Linked DNA regions of Homo sapiens: region 2 is linked to region 1. The links are contacts of gene promoters, found by promoter capture Hi-C in blood cells and fetal thymus (Javierre and others, 2016). All regions are on one chromosome and are shown on one strand. Each heading gives the region's core, a stretch centred on a gene start or on the middle of the fragment in contact. The rest is flanking DNA. Distances are from core to core; before and after follow the strand shown. Region 1 holds the start of DNAH6 (dynein axonemal heavy chain 6). Region 2 holds the start of TRABD2A (TraB domain containing 2A).

Region 1 (7,055 bases), core at 425-2,924:
TATGTCTGTGTCTTCCAATCCTCCCACCCCCACTTCACCACAGTCACACACACACACACACACACACACACACACACTTCTTAGCTTTTGGAATGCTTTCAGCTGCACATGGTAACAGTTGTGTACAATCCACCTTAATCTAAAAAAGGGAGTCTAGGATTGAGGAGCAATAGATTTGTCTCCATTGCATAAACTTTGAAGGGAACAGATTAAAATTTTCACTGCACATCTGAAATGAAATCTATTCTGAGGATGTGTCTAACATTGCTTGTTATTATAACTTTATGCTTCGATGTACTGAGTTGGCTTTGAATTTCTTTTTCCATTATTAGTTTATATCAATGATTGCATTTTACTAGCTGACTAGTTTTGTGTGTATTTTTCATCTCTGGGGAATTAATCTTTATTTTGTCTACATTTGAAGTTTTTCAGAATTTTTAAAATTTTTTCTAAACTGACTTTACTCTCTTGCTGTTTCCAGTTTCTCATTAGGGATTGGGAGATCTGCATTCTAGTTTTGTCTGTGGCACAACTAGCTGCCTGACCTGGAGTAAAGCACTTGCTTTCTCTGGGCTTCAGTTCCCTTACAAATCAAATAGGGGAGTTGGACTATGTGACCTGTAATCTCCATTTTAGCTCTATCTGTGATTTAGAGAATCATACTACCATATCAAATACATAACTGAATATGTTAAGATTGAGAAGATGCAGGCTGTGAGTACAATAATGTAAAGAACTTCACATAGAGCAAGAAACAAATATCAAGGTAACAAAGAGCAACCGAAAAGAGCAAAAGAAAATGATGATTATGTCATTTTGGAGACAAGGTTGAAAACCAGAGCTCCTCCATGTGGTGTAAGGATTCATCAAGACAGGTGAAAGGATTTCTTCCCCTGATCAGTAACTGGGATAAGGCATCCCGAGTAAGCAACAGGCCCTGGCCTTCGATGGGGTCGCTCCATACAAAATTAGCAACAGTCACTTGGGAACTTAAGTGAGATTAAACGCCAGAATAAGATCCAGGGTCTGCTTTGGTAGAAGGGGCACGGGAACCAAGTAATACGGGCTCATCCTATGCCTGACACCTAGGTTACCTTCCAAGTGGAAAAGGACATTAGTTGGAAGGCCACAGTGGAGTTTAAGGGAAGAGGAGGCCACATTTCTTGAGCCTTAAGACACTCGGGAGGAGGTTGGCGGGTAGGGCAGGGATGCAGAGTGGTTGCTTCCTTGGAGAGTGGGACCTCATTTGTCTACACAACCCACATTCCTCTCCTGAAATTCTCGACTCTTTCGGATAAATTTCTATTAAAGTGAACGTCAAGTCAGTCTTACGCCTCTTGAAGGAAAACAGAAAAGAAATTCCTGTAAGAGGTTGAGATGGGTGTGAGTGGTCGATAAGCAACGAAGCAAACAGAATTAACCACCTCCTTTGGCTGCTCTGCCTACACCTCCTGGCACAGTACTCAATTCCCAGCGCAGAGGAGGAACCAGGCTGTGCGGCTTCTCCAACAATCAGCGAAGTAGGAAATGTTTCGGAGACACTAATTGGCTCGATTGCCTGGCGCGCTCCTGGACCGAAAGCTGTGGCTGGTTGAGGCGTTGCCTGGCGACGTGTTACTCAGTGGCGCAGTGCTTCCGTAGAGGCCAGCTGGTTGCTACGCAGCAACAGGAAACATTCCGCGCTACCGAGTACTTTCTACTCCCGACCAGGCATTGCTCTCTCTGGAGACCCTCGGCGGTGGTTGCTGTATTTTGACTTGGTGAGTCCTGGGAACCGACCCTCGGGCCTGGGCTCCGATTTCTGGGCCAGAAACAAAGTCTGACTTTCGGAGAACATAAAGGCTCAAAGAGGCAGAGAAAATCAATGGAAAGGCATTTCAGTGATTGTCTGCTATCCGCCCATCATTTTAGAGGGGTGGAAAGTGAGCAATAGCGATATCAAAAGACTTGTCCAAGATCTCACGCTGAGTGGTCAAATCTGGACCTGCGCTGTTAAATACGGTAATCTTTAGACCTCGTGTGGCTAGTCTGAATTGCAATGTGCTCATATGTAAAAAGCACACTGGATTTTGAAGGCGTGGTACCAAAAGACAACATAAGATATCACTATAATTTTTATACTGTGTGTTCAAATGATTATGTTTTGTATATGGTAAATAAAACATATTATTAAAATTAATCTCACCTATTTCTTTTTTAAAAATGCTATTGCTTGAAAATTAAAATTGCATACAAAGCTCTCATATTTCTATTGGCCAGCACTGATCTATATAAAACCTAGGTCTGCCGACACCTGATTCAAGACCTCTTGTGCTAACCCTATTTTGGAAGGTGTTTCGAAGTATCTCCACTCATCTAATGGGGTGAAAGTGTGCGTGGTGGTGCAGAGTGCAAGACCATTACAAAAGGCTCATATTTCTAGTGTTTTAGGACCTTGCTACTCAAAGTGTATGAATCAGAACCTTCATTTTAACAAGCTCTGCAAGTGATTGTCCTGCACGTTAAAGCTCCAGAAGCACTGTGTAAGAAATTAGCCCTCAATTCTTTTTTTTCCCTTTGTTTCTTCTTGAGTACCTATACTGTATTTTTCAGACTGCGTGTACTAGAATTAGCTGCATTTTGAACAAGTTCCGCAGGAGATGAGAAACATTGATCTCAATACTAATTACATTTCCTTTTGTCCTTCCAAATCTAGACCAGTGTGGTCTCCAGATGAGCAGCAGCAGCAGCATCCGCCAAGAACTTGCAAGAAATGCAAATTCCTGGGTTCCACCCTAGCTACAGGGGTTCTTGAAGCCTAGGCACAGTTTCTAATTTTTTATTCCTTTGGTTCAAGTCCTCAGTTCGGGAAGACTGGGGTAACTTTGATGGGTTTTATTTGAGGGAAGTGAGCGAATTCAACTCTTCCTAGTCCTTAAGTCCCTCTCCAGTAGCCTCCTTCCCCAATCCTTTTGATCTACTTTTCATTTTCTTTTTCCTCACCTATTCTTTTCAGGAGTAAGGATGACTTTTCGGGCCACAGATAGTGAATTTGACCTGACAAATATTGAAGAGTATGCCGAAAATTCTGCACTTTCAAGACTGAATAATATAAAAGCCAAACAAAGAGTGAGTTATGTGACATCCACAGAAAATGAATCTGATACACAAATCCTAACGTTTAGGCACATTACAAAAGCTCAGGAGAAGACAAGAAAACGACAGCAGCCTATAAAACTAGAGCCTTTGGTAAGTTCAAAAACCATTGTTTTAGCCTCTGTAGCCACAGAGGAAGTTGTAAAATTGCTTTGGAGGATAGAAGTCATGTCCAGACTCTGAACTGACAAAGAAGGAATGAAAAGCTAAAAGATAATAACTGCTTATGTAGTTGTAAATACGGTAAATATTTATTAAACAAATATTAAGTTCTAGGCACTGTTTAAGTTGAAGGATACAGTGGTGAACAAAGTTTTCAGGCAGATAAGTCCTCTCTAGGATTATGTACAATACAGATACTTAACTATGTATGCTATTAGGCACTTTTAGATATTAGGGTACCATTTAACACTGAGAAGTTTAGCAAATGTTATATTTAGTTATATAGTTTTATTATTTTCAAAGTACATGCCTTTGTATTTAAAAAATTGTGTGCATGTTGAAAATACTTAATTTTTAGAAACCATTTATGCCCTTGGATAATTATAAACGCATGTAAAGAGCAGTGAAAGCGAAAAAATTAAAAAGTAAAAGTTGTCCTCTCCACCATTAGACGTTAGCTACATCTATTTCTCTCTGACGTATTTGCCTTCACTTGACAAAAGTGTATCACTAACCGTTGATGATTAAAGTTGTTTAATTTGTCACCAATGCCATCTACTCATGTATATTAAAAGTTTGTTATGTGCGTACTCTGTGCCAGGGTTTGAGCCATGCTCTGAGGAATGAACAAAGCAAATGAACAAATATAAATGAACAAAATAAACAAATATAAATGAACAAAAATGAACAAAGCAGACAAGATTCCTGTTGACATTCTAGTAATTCTAAATAAGCAGACTGAACAATTTCACCTAGTGATAGTAACTATTTAAAAAATAAGCCAAACGCATGGGCTCATGCCTGTAATCTTAGCACTTTGGGAGGCAAAGGGAGAGGGTCATTGAGCCCAGGAGGTAGAGGCTGCAGTAAGCTGTGCTTATACCACTGCACTCCAGCCTGGGTGACAGAGTGAGATCCTATCTCTAAAAAAAGAAAAGAAAAGAGCACATGGACTATGGTAGAGACTCAGAAGAGACTGCTTTAGATTGGGTGACTAGAAAGGTCTCTCTGAGGAGATTTTATCTGAACAAGTCTCAGCCAACAGCCTGTATCAACTGACAGATATCTGCAATTTAGGCAGAGCTCAGTGGGGACAGCTTGCCTCTACTCCACTGGGCACCAGCTGAGGCATTGATGCTGTCCCCACTGAGCTCTGCCTAAATTACAGAATTTTTAGCAAAATAAATGTTAGTTTTTAAGTTACTAAGTTTGAGGCAGTATGTTATATACTAACATAACTTGCACAGTATAAATAATACATGAATAAAATAATTCATACAATATTAAAAAATAACAAGGAAAAAAGTGAAAATGACCTGAAGTTTCACCATGCAGAGAGAAAGTAGCTTAATAGTCTAGTGACTAATTTCACACCTGTGGGTGTCTGCAGTTTGACTTCTTTTTATAGAGTTGGTAAGAATGTATTTTTGTTATTGACTTCCCTCCCCTCAACTGCCTTCTCCTCTCCCTTTCCCTTCCCCTTCTTCTTCCTATTCTCCTCTTCCCCCCTTCTTTCCCCTCCTCTTCCTTCTTCTTTTCTTCCTCCTCTCTCTCTTCCCTTACCCCTCCTTCTCCTACTCTCTTTCTTTTCTACTCTTCTTCTTTTACATTTTTTCCTTACCTCCAAATTCCCCAATCTCTGACCCCCTTTTCTATGCCATCTAACATTGATGACATCTAGTATATGTCTTTTCTTGCCTTTGTCCATGCTGAAACAATTTTATACAAATTTATTTGTAATTTTGTAATTTTACAAATGTATGAAACTTACAATTTGTAATTGTGTGTATTTGTAATATTTTCATGAAAATATTACAAATAAATACAATACTCTCCATCTAGCTTTTTACACTTAGTGGTGGCATAGTATCTGATTGTATGAACATTCCATAATTTACTAAATCATTCTCCTCTTTTGAGACATTCAAGTTGTTTTGCCAGTATTTCAAATGGTACAGTAAAATTGTATTATCCTTTTGTATTGGTGCTTATATTCCTATGAGACAGGGCCCTGTGAGTGGTGTTGTGGAGTTGATGAAAAAGTTACATATATGTATAATTGTATTTAATTGTATATTAATTTCCATATAATTATATTTAACATACAATTTTACTTAATTCACACATATTTTACCTGGAAACCAGTTTCTCAATCCAATGTACACATGTTGCCTAAATTAAATTGCATTTTCACCCTTAACCTAAGTTATACTATAATCTCTTCCAACTTTTTGTTGCCTGATCTGCATAGGTGAAACTGCACCTTCACACAGGATGCAGCTAGTGTTTTTATGTGTAACTTTTTTAACGTTTATTTTAGATTCAGGGGTATATGTACAGATTTGTTACATAGGTAAACTGAGGTCATGGGGGTTTGTTGCACAGATTATTTCATCTCTCAGGTACTAAGTGTAGTACACAATAGTTGTTTTTTTCTGTTCCTCTCCCTCCTCACACCCTCCTCCCTCAAGTAGACTCCAGGGTCTCTTGTACCTCTCTTTTTGTTCATGTGTTGTCATCATTTGGTTTTCACTTATAAGTGAGAAAATGTGATATTTGGTTTTCTGTTGCCAAGGATGATGACCTCAAGCTCCATCCATGTTCCTCTGAGGAACATGATCTTGTTCTTTTTTATGGCTGTGTAGTATTTCATGGTGTATATATACCACATTTTCTTTATCCAGTCTACCAATAATGGGCATTTAGACTGATTCCATGTCTTTGCTATTGTGAATAGTGCTGCAATGAACATACACATGCATATGTCATTATGATAGATCAATTTATATTCCTTTGGGTATATACCCAGTAGTGGGATTACTGGCTCGAATGGGAGTTCTGCTTTTAGCTATTTGGGGAGTCACCATGCTACTTTCCACAATGGTTGTTATTTTTTATTTTAATTTTTTTATTATTTGTCATATTACAAATAAATACAATACTCTCCATCTAGCTTTTTACACTTAATGGTGGCATAGTATCTGATTGTATGAATATTCCATAATTTACTTTTCTATTTTTTTTAATTTTTCAGTAATAGCCATTCTGACTGGTATGAGATGGTATCTCATTGTGGTTTTGATTTGCGTTTCTCTAATGACCAGTGATATTGAGCTTTTTTTCATATGCTTGTTCGCTATGTCTATGTCTTTTTTTGAAAAGTGTCTGTTCATGTCCTTTGCCCACTTTTTAATGGGTTTGTTTGTGGGTTTTTTTGTAGATTTGTTTGTTTCTTGTAGATTCTGGATATTAGACCTTCAAAGATGCATAGCTTACAAATATTTTCTTCCATTCTGTAGGTTGTTTTTTCACTCTGTTGATAGTTTCTTTAGCTATGCAGAAGTTCTTAAGTTTAATTAGATCCCATTTGTCAATTTTTGATTTTGTTGCAATTGCTTTTGGTATCTTTGTCATGAAATCTTTGCCAATTCCTACGTTCAGAATGGTATTGCCTACGTTGTCTTCCAGGGGTTTTATAGTTTGGGGTTTTACATTTATGTCTTTAATCCATCTTGAGTTAATTTTTGTATATGGTGTAAGGAAAGGGTCCATTTTTAATCTTCTGCATATGGGTAGCCAGTTATCCCAGTACCATTTATTGAATAGGGAGTCCTTTCTCTATTGCTTGTTTTTGTCAGCTTTGTCAAAGATGACATGGTTGTACATGTGCGGCCTTATTTTTGGGCTCTTTATTCTGTTCTGTTGGTCTACATGTCTGTTTTTGTACCAGTACCATGTTGTTTTGGTTACTGTAGCCC
Region 2 (6,643 bases), core at 1,029-3,528, 360 kb after region 1:
ATAGAAAGAAACAGGAAAACATTAAACACAGTGGAAATATCACTTTTGATGAGGTCGTCAACGTTGCTCAACAGATGCATCACCAATCTTTAGCCAGAGAACTTTCTGGAACCATTAAAGAGATCCTGGGGACTTCCCAGTCTGTGGGCTGAATCTTGATGGCTGCCACACTCATGACATCAACAATGGTGCAGTGGAATGCCCAGCTAGTTAAGAAGCACAAAGGAAAACATTTCAATAAGGGATCATTTGACAGCAAAAACCACAAAAAGAACATGTAAGCCAGAAAAGGGACAGTGAGTACTGTGGCACAGGGTTGCAGGGGTGACTTTAAGTAGGGGGACCAGAAAAGTCACTGAATGTCTATAAAGACATCTAAGCCTTGCCGTGAAGGAGACGAGGGGCCCACTATGGGGATATCTAAGAGAAGAGCATTCCCTCCAGGAGGCAGAAACAGCATGCAAAGGCCCTGAGGCAGGGAGGGCCTCCATGTACTGGAAGACCAGCAAGGAGGCCAGCACGACAGAGAGGGATAGCTGAACAGAAAAGCAGGAGGCAGAGGTCAGAGAGGTGAGTGAGGTCAAGCCATGCAGGGTCGGTGGGCCTCTGGAAAGGCCCCAGGAAGGGCTCAGGCTTTCAACTGATTCAGATGGGAGCTAGCCCAGGTTTTTGAGAGAGGAGTGACATCAGCTGACAGTGTGTTCAAAGGCTCGCCCTGGAGGCTGGGATGAATAGAGGGATGAGGGCAGACACAAGTAGGTCAGTTAGGACATTACCAAAATAATCTGAGTGGGAGTGACAGGATTGATGGGAAGTGATCAAATTCCAGATGTAGTCTAGAAAACAGGATTTGCTGGCCAGCACGGTGCCTCATGCCTGTAATCCCAACACTTTGGGAAGCTTGAGCCCAAAAGTTTGAGATCAGCCTGGACAACATAGCAAGACCCTGTCTCTACAAAATATTTAAAAATTAGCCAGGCATGGTGGCAGGCACCTCCAGTCCCAGCTACTTAGGAGGTTGAGGTAGGAAGATGGTTTGAGCCTGGGAGGATGAGGCTGCAGTGAGCTATGATTGCACCACTGCACTCCTGCCTGGGCAACAGAGTGAGACCCTATCTCAAAATTAAAAAAAAAAAAAAAGGAAAGAAAACAGGACTTCCTGATGAAAGGATGAGGTTATCATTAACAGATATGGAGAAGGACGGGGGTGAAACAGGATTAGAGGGGAAGGTCAGAAATTTGGTTTTGGATCTGTCCAATTGACATGTCAAGCATACAACTTGTGCCAAGGTCCAGGTGGTAGGTGAATATGTAAGTCTGGAGCTTGGGAGAGGCCTGGGTCAGAGATGAAGATGAGGGCATCATCACCATGTAGATGTTCTTTAAAGCCATGGGACTAGACAAGGTCTCCAACAGGATGTCCACAGGAGAAAAGTTCTAGGAATAGACTCAGGGCCCTCTCACCCTAAGAAGTCTGGGGAAAGAAGAGCAGCTAGCAAGGGAGAATGAGAAGTGGCCAGCAAGGTTGCTGGGAAAATCAGAAGAGTAGGAGGCCGATTGAAGAAAGTACTTCAAGGAGCAGAAAGTAAGCAAGCGGGTTAAATGTGGATGGTAGGCCAAATAAATCAAGAATTTGAGAACTGACCTCTGGATTGAGCAACACTGAAGTCACTAGGGACTCAGACAAGAACAGTTTTAGTGGTGTGGTGGGAGCAAAAATATGCCCCATGCTAAGTGGTGGACAGGTAGGCTGACTCCTGAGTCCAAGCTTTTAAACGCCATATTTATGCAGCCTTAACATGCAATAGACTTTACCTCTGATTCAGAGTCATATCTTTTTTCAGTTAATACCCTGCTAGTTGTATTGTTGCTGAGGAGCACCACCTGATTCCAAATCTAGAAAGGCTCTGTCCAGCTCATCTTCCCGATCCCAGATGATTGCCCAGATAAACCACACTGACCTTGTTACATCCTCAGGTGCCACCTTTCCCATTTTCTCTTTTCAAGTTAACACAGCTCAGGGGCTTTTCTGCTTTTTTATGCCAAGGGCTGTATCTTATTCACCTTCATATCCCCAAATACTGAAATACTTGCCATATACTACTACATAGGAGCTCAAAAAGAGTTTTTTAAAGAAATGAATCTTATCTTGTACAATTTCTTCAATACCTACAGATCTGTTCTGACCAAAGGGCACCCGGATTCCCACTGTGTGCACCAATAACCATTCCTGTGGAACACTGATCCTGCCCTACCAGACATGTCTTCAGCAGGGCACAGGCTGAAAGAAGAGTCTTCAGGACTCTTCTTTACCTTACTTTGCCCACTGGCGAGCCCCCGGACCCTTGCACTTACTGTACTGGTGCAACTGCCTCTGCCTCTCTCATACTGATATCCTCAGGGTAGGGCTATTTATCTCTACAAAAAAAAAAAATCCTTCACTACCCCATTTCACTGTTAAAATATATGGCAATTAGAAGAAGCCATAGATTTTAACATTAGGGTGGTTTAAAAGAAAAAAAAACTGAACCACGATTAACATGTCCCTTCTAACTTGTTGCAACTGTTCCCAGAAGGAAAAGACAACCGGGCATGGTGGCTCATGCCTGTAATCCCAAGACTTTGGGAAGCTGAGGCAGGAGGACCATTTGAGGCCTGGAGTTGAAGGTTACAATGAGCTATGATCACGACACTGCCCTCCATCCTGGGTGACAGAGCAGGACTGTGTCTCAAAAAAGAAAAAAGAGAGAGAGAAAACATGGCCATGGGTGACTGAGACACAGAAGCTACAAGCTTCTGAATCAAACTGAGATTTTAACAGACACCTGTGTAGTCCATCCAGTGAAAAAGAACAAGGCACAATGACAACTGCATATTGCAAGCTAACTCCGTAACACCCAGCACACCCTCAGCTCCTCCCATCCTAGCATCCCTGGACCTGCAATAACTGCACTTTTCCAAGATTACTCTTCAGCAGACCAGCCACAATGAAGCTGGCTTTACATTATCCTTTTCATTCAACAAATATTTTTTGAGCATCTGCTATGGCAAGGCACTCTTCTGGATACTGGGGATGCAGAAGCAAACAAAACAGACAAAAATCCCTACCCTTATGAAGATGACATAGGGGAAGGGGCAGCAATAAACAAAAATTTTTATCAGATGGTGATTAAGTGCTATAAATAAAAATAAAGCAGGGAAGGCAGATGGTAGTGGTGGCAGCAGTTGATGTCACCTTTACGAGAGTAATCAGGAAGAAACTCATTGAGAGACGCTTGAGCCAAAGCCAGATGGAGGTAAGGGAGCAAGCCTGTGGATAAATGAGGGGAGAATTTCCCAGGGGGAAGAAAGAGCAAGTATAAAAGGCATCAGGCTGGACACGGTGGCTCACGCCTATAATCCCAGCACTTTGGGAGGCTGAGGCGGGTGGATCATGAGGTCAGGAGTTCGAGACCAGCCTGCTCAAGATAGTGGAACCCCATCTCTACTAAAAATACAAAAATTAGCCGGGCTTGGTGGTGGGCGCCTGTAATCCCAGCTGCTCAGGAGGCTGAGGCAGGAGAATCACTTGAACCCTGGAGGCAGAGGTTGCAGTGAGCCAATGTAGCATCACTGCACTCTAGCCTGGGTGACAGATAGAGCAAGACTCTGTCTCAAAAAAAAAAAAAAGGCAGCAGGCAGGAATAGGAAAGAACACTAAGAGTTCTGTTTGACAAGAAAGAGACTCAACCTGCGTGGTGCTCAGGGTAAACCCTGCAGTGTCTAGGGGCCAATTTGGGCTCAGAAGACCTCTCTAATGATTAACCAACCATGAAAACCAAACCAGCTCTCAAGGCTACAGTCCTGCAGAATCCTATAGGGGCTGCTGCACTGGATTGGAGGCTGGATCCCAGGACTTCCACTCTAGAATCTCAAGACCCCAACCCACTGAGGAACCCAACCACAATGCCCTTACAGCATGTGGGTCAGACATACAGCATGTGTGCCGCTGATTGGCCTTCCCAATTCCGCAGGGGGTAAGACAGAGTTTGCCCACAGAATAGAACAGCAATTCTCAAAGTATGGTCCAGGGACCTGTGGGTGTCCCCAAGAGCCTTTCAGGGAGTCTATAAGGTCAAAACTGTTTTTATAAAACTAAGATATTTTCCTTTCACCCTCATTTTCTCACAAGGTACTGTAGAATTTTCTGGAGGCTACATGTGTGTGATGAGGTCACTGCTCTGATGGCTAATGGAATGTGTGCTATGTTGTGTTTTACTACTATCTCCATTAATTCACATAAAGTAAAAGTCTTTGAGGTTTTCAATACTTTTTTTTTTTTTTTTTTGGATATAGGGTCTCGCTCTTTCACCCAAGCTGGAGTGCAGTGGCACAATCACACCTCACTGGCCTCCACTCCCAGGCTCAAGGTTTCCTTCCACCTCAGTCTCTGGAGTAGCTGGGACTGCAGGCACATGTCCCCACGCTGGTAATTTTTTTTATTTTTTTGTAGAGACAAGGGTCTCGCCATGTTGGCCAGGCTGGTCTGCAACTCCTGGGCTCAAGTGATCCACCGCCTTGGCCTCCCAAAGTGCTGGGATTACAGGAGTGAGCTACCATGCCGGGCTTCTTTGATAATTTTTTGTAACGTAAAGGAGTCCTGAGACCAAAAGGTAGGACGATGGAATAAAGGACTCATAAAGACAGATTCTAAAGGAGAGAGATCTTATCCAGACTCACTCGTCATAATTACCAGTCGGTAATAGGTTTTGCAGAAGTGAAAGGCAATGTGCTTTCTTGTGAGGAGATGGACTCCTGCCTTGTCTAACAAGCATGAAGCGGCCACACCGCAACAGAGTTTGAAACCATGCCTGGTGCAGACTCCCCTCTCCAGCTGCCGCGCCTCCTGCCTTGGTAGAGGGCCGTCCGCAGCCCCGCGACGCCTTACAGAGGCGAACACCGTGCGTCTTCCCAGCCCGGAGCTCCAGGATCGGCTCTATTTGGCCGTCCTCTGCTTTGCTGCAGTTGGGATGAGGAATAAAATTGCGAATGGCCAGGGGTGGAGGCAGACCGGGGAGCTGCGCAGGTGTCATCAAAGGTGGGCCTCTAAATTCCAGCCCCCACTCCCTCAACCCACCCCCAACCCCCCCCACCCCCGCGTCGCGGGCGCACCAGAAGGATAAGCCTGGCATGGCCCTCTCCAGAGCCAGGGACGCACAGATATCAAACCCACCGGAACAAATGCGCGAAATTCAACCTATGCCGCACTCAGAAGAGAGGGACTCGAGAACCACAGAAAATTCTGAGTGTAGGAAAACTGATCAGAGAAGGAAATATTCATCTCGAAAGAGGTCCAGCCTCGGAGACGCAAGACCTGTCCGCTATAGAGCTGTGTTGACTCGGGCAGGTCACTGAGCCTCCCTTGCCTGGGTTTCCCTCACCCACAAAACGTTGATGCGAACATCTAAAGCGCCCGGCTGGACACGCAAGGCTCGGACAGTGGTCACTCCGCGAACGCACTCTGTGACCTGGAGCACACAGGTCCCCCGCTGAGTGTCAGTTTCCCAGATCGGTAAAAACAAGGGAAATGGCTTCAACTCCCTAAAGTCCCTTCTAACTCAGGCACTGAACATATGAAGGTTAAGCCAAGCAGCTTCAGGGCGCTGTTAATATTTTGATAAGAGCAGGTGAAATTAAACTCTTAAGGAAGAGAGGGAAGAAGAAACTTCAAATAAATGTGCCCAAGTTCCTGGTCCGGTACTCCCTGGCGGATCCGTCCCCCGAAAGCTCGCGAAAATGGCTGGCGAGACCCCAGAGGCTCTCTCGGACGCCCTTGGGCTGGCGGAGGGCAAAGGCCAGGGCACTGAGTCGCTTGGAGCCTGCGGGCTGCGCCCCCGCGGGAAAGGGGAACCCGAGGGCACGGAGAGGAGAGCGAGCAAGGAGCGCCGCGGTGCTAGGTGAAAGCCCAGCCGCGGAAGTCGGCTCGGGGTCCGAAAGCGCTGCTTCGCGGGGTTCGGAGGGAAACCATCCCAAGGAGGTGCAGAGAGGCCGGCTCTCCAGCACCCGACGCGCGCCTTACTTGGGGCTTGAGCTCGCAGTTGGCGGTGCCGGGCGCCCCGCGCCGCGAAGCTGCGCCCGTGGGCAGGAGGCAGAGGGTCTGCAGCAGGAACCAGCTCCAGGGACTCATCCTCCTCAAGGCGGCTCCGAGGCCCGGAACGCGGAGGGAAGGAGTAGGGCAGAGGTGGCCGCCCGCCCTGGCTAGCCGGGGCCGCGGGGCGCCTCCGGGCGGGGCTGGGGTGAGCCCGGCAGCAGCGGCCACGTGGGGCCGGGCCTCGACCTCCCTCCCCCCACCCCACCCCCGCAGGTCAGCCCCGCGCCTAGGCGGCAGCGGAGTCCCGAACCGCGTTTCTCCCGCCCAAACCCTGCCGGGGCCGCCGCCCACCTCGTGTGACCGCAAGAGGGGTAAAGTGAAGTTCCAGCGCTGTCCTAAATTCAACCTAAAATCGCATTGGTTCCTGCGTTTACGTCTGTGCTTATGCTGCCGATTGTGAGGGGAGGGTGCCTCTTGATTGAAAGAGGCAGACAAAATAAACAAATGAAAGGCTATCTATAAAGGAAAGTTCATTTAAACAAAGGAAATCTCACGGAAGTTTTGAATGTAAAA

What was found. Contacts are between HindIII fragments. The CHiCAGO score rates a contact against its expected background, and 5 or more counts as called.
Region 2: a contact is called between a fragment that was not itself captured here and the fragment with the promoter of DNAH6 in region 1, in 1 of 17 cell types (naive B cells). The highest score is 6.6, in naive B cells.

What each region holds. Positions count from the first base shown.
Region 1 is chr2:84,514,824-84,521,878 of GRCh38, forward strand. It overlaps DNAH6 (dynein axonemal heavy chain 6), which reads left to right and starts at 1,675. Exons shown (of 77, transcript NM_001370.2): 1 at 1,675-1,760; 2 at 2,996-3,228. The coding sequence starts at 3,004. The HindIII fragment of the contact is 7,595 bases long and covers 1-7,055 here.
Region 2 is chr2:84,874,874-84,881,516 of GRCh38, forward strand. It overlaps TRABD2A (TraB domain containing 2A), which reads right to left and starts at 6,211. Exons shown (of 7, transcript NM_001277053.2): 1 at 6,059-6,211. The coding sequence starts at 6,166. It also overlaps the pseudogene RPL12P18. RefSeq lists enhancers at 5,453-5,955, 5,956-6,456 and a silencer at 6,186-6,315. The HindIII fragment of the contact is 1,025 bases long and covers 1,767-2,791 here.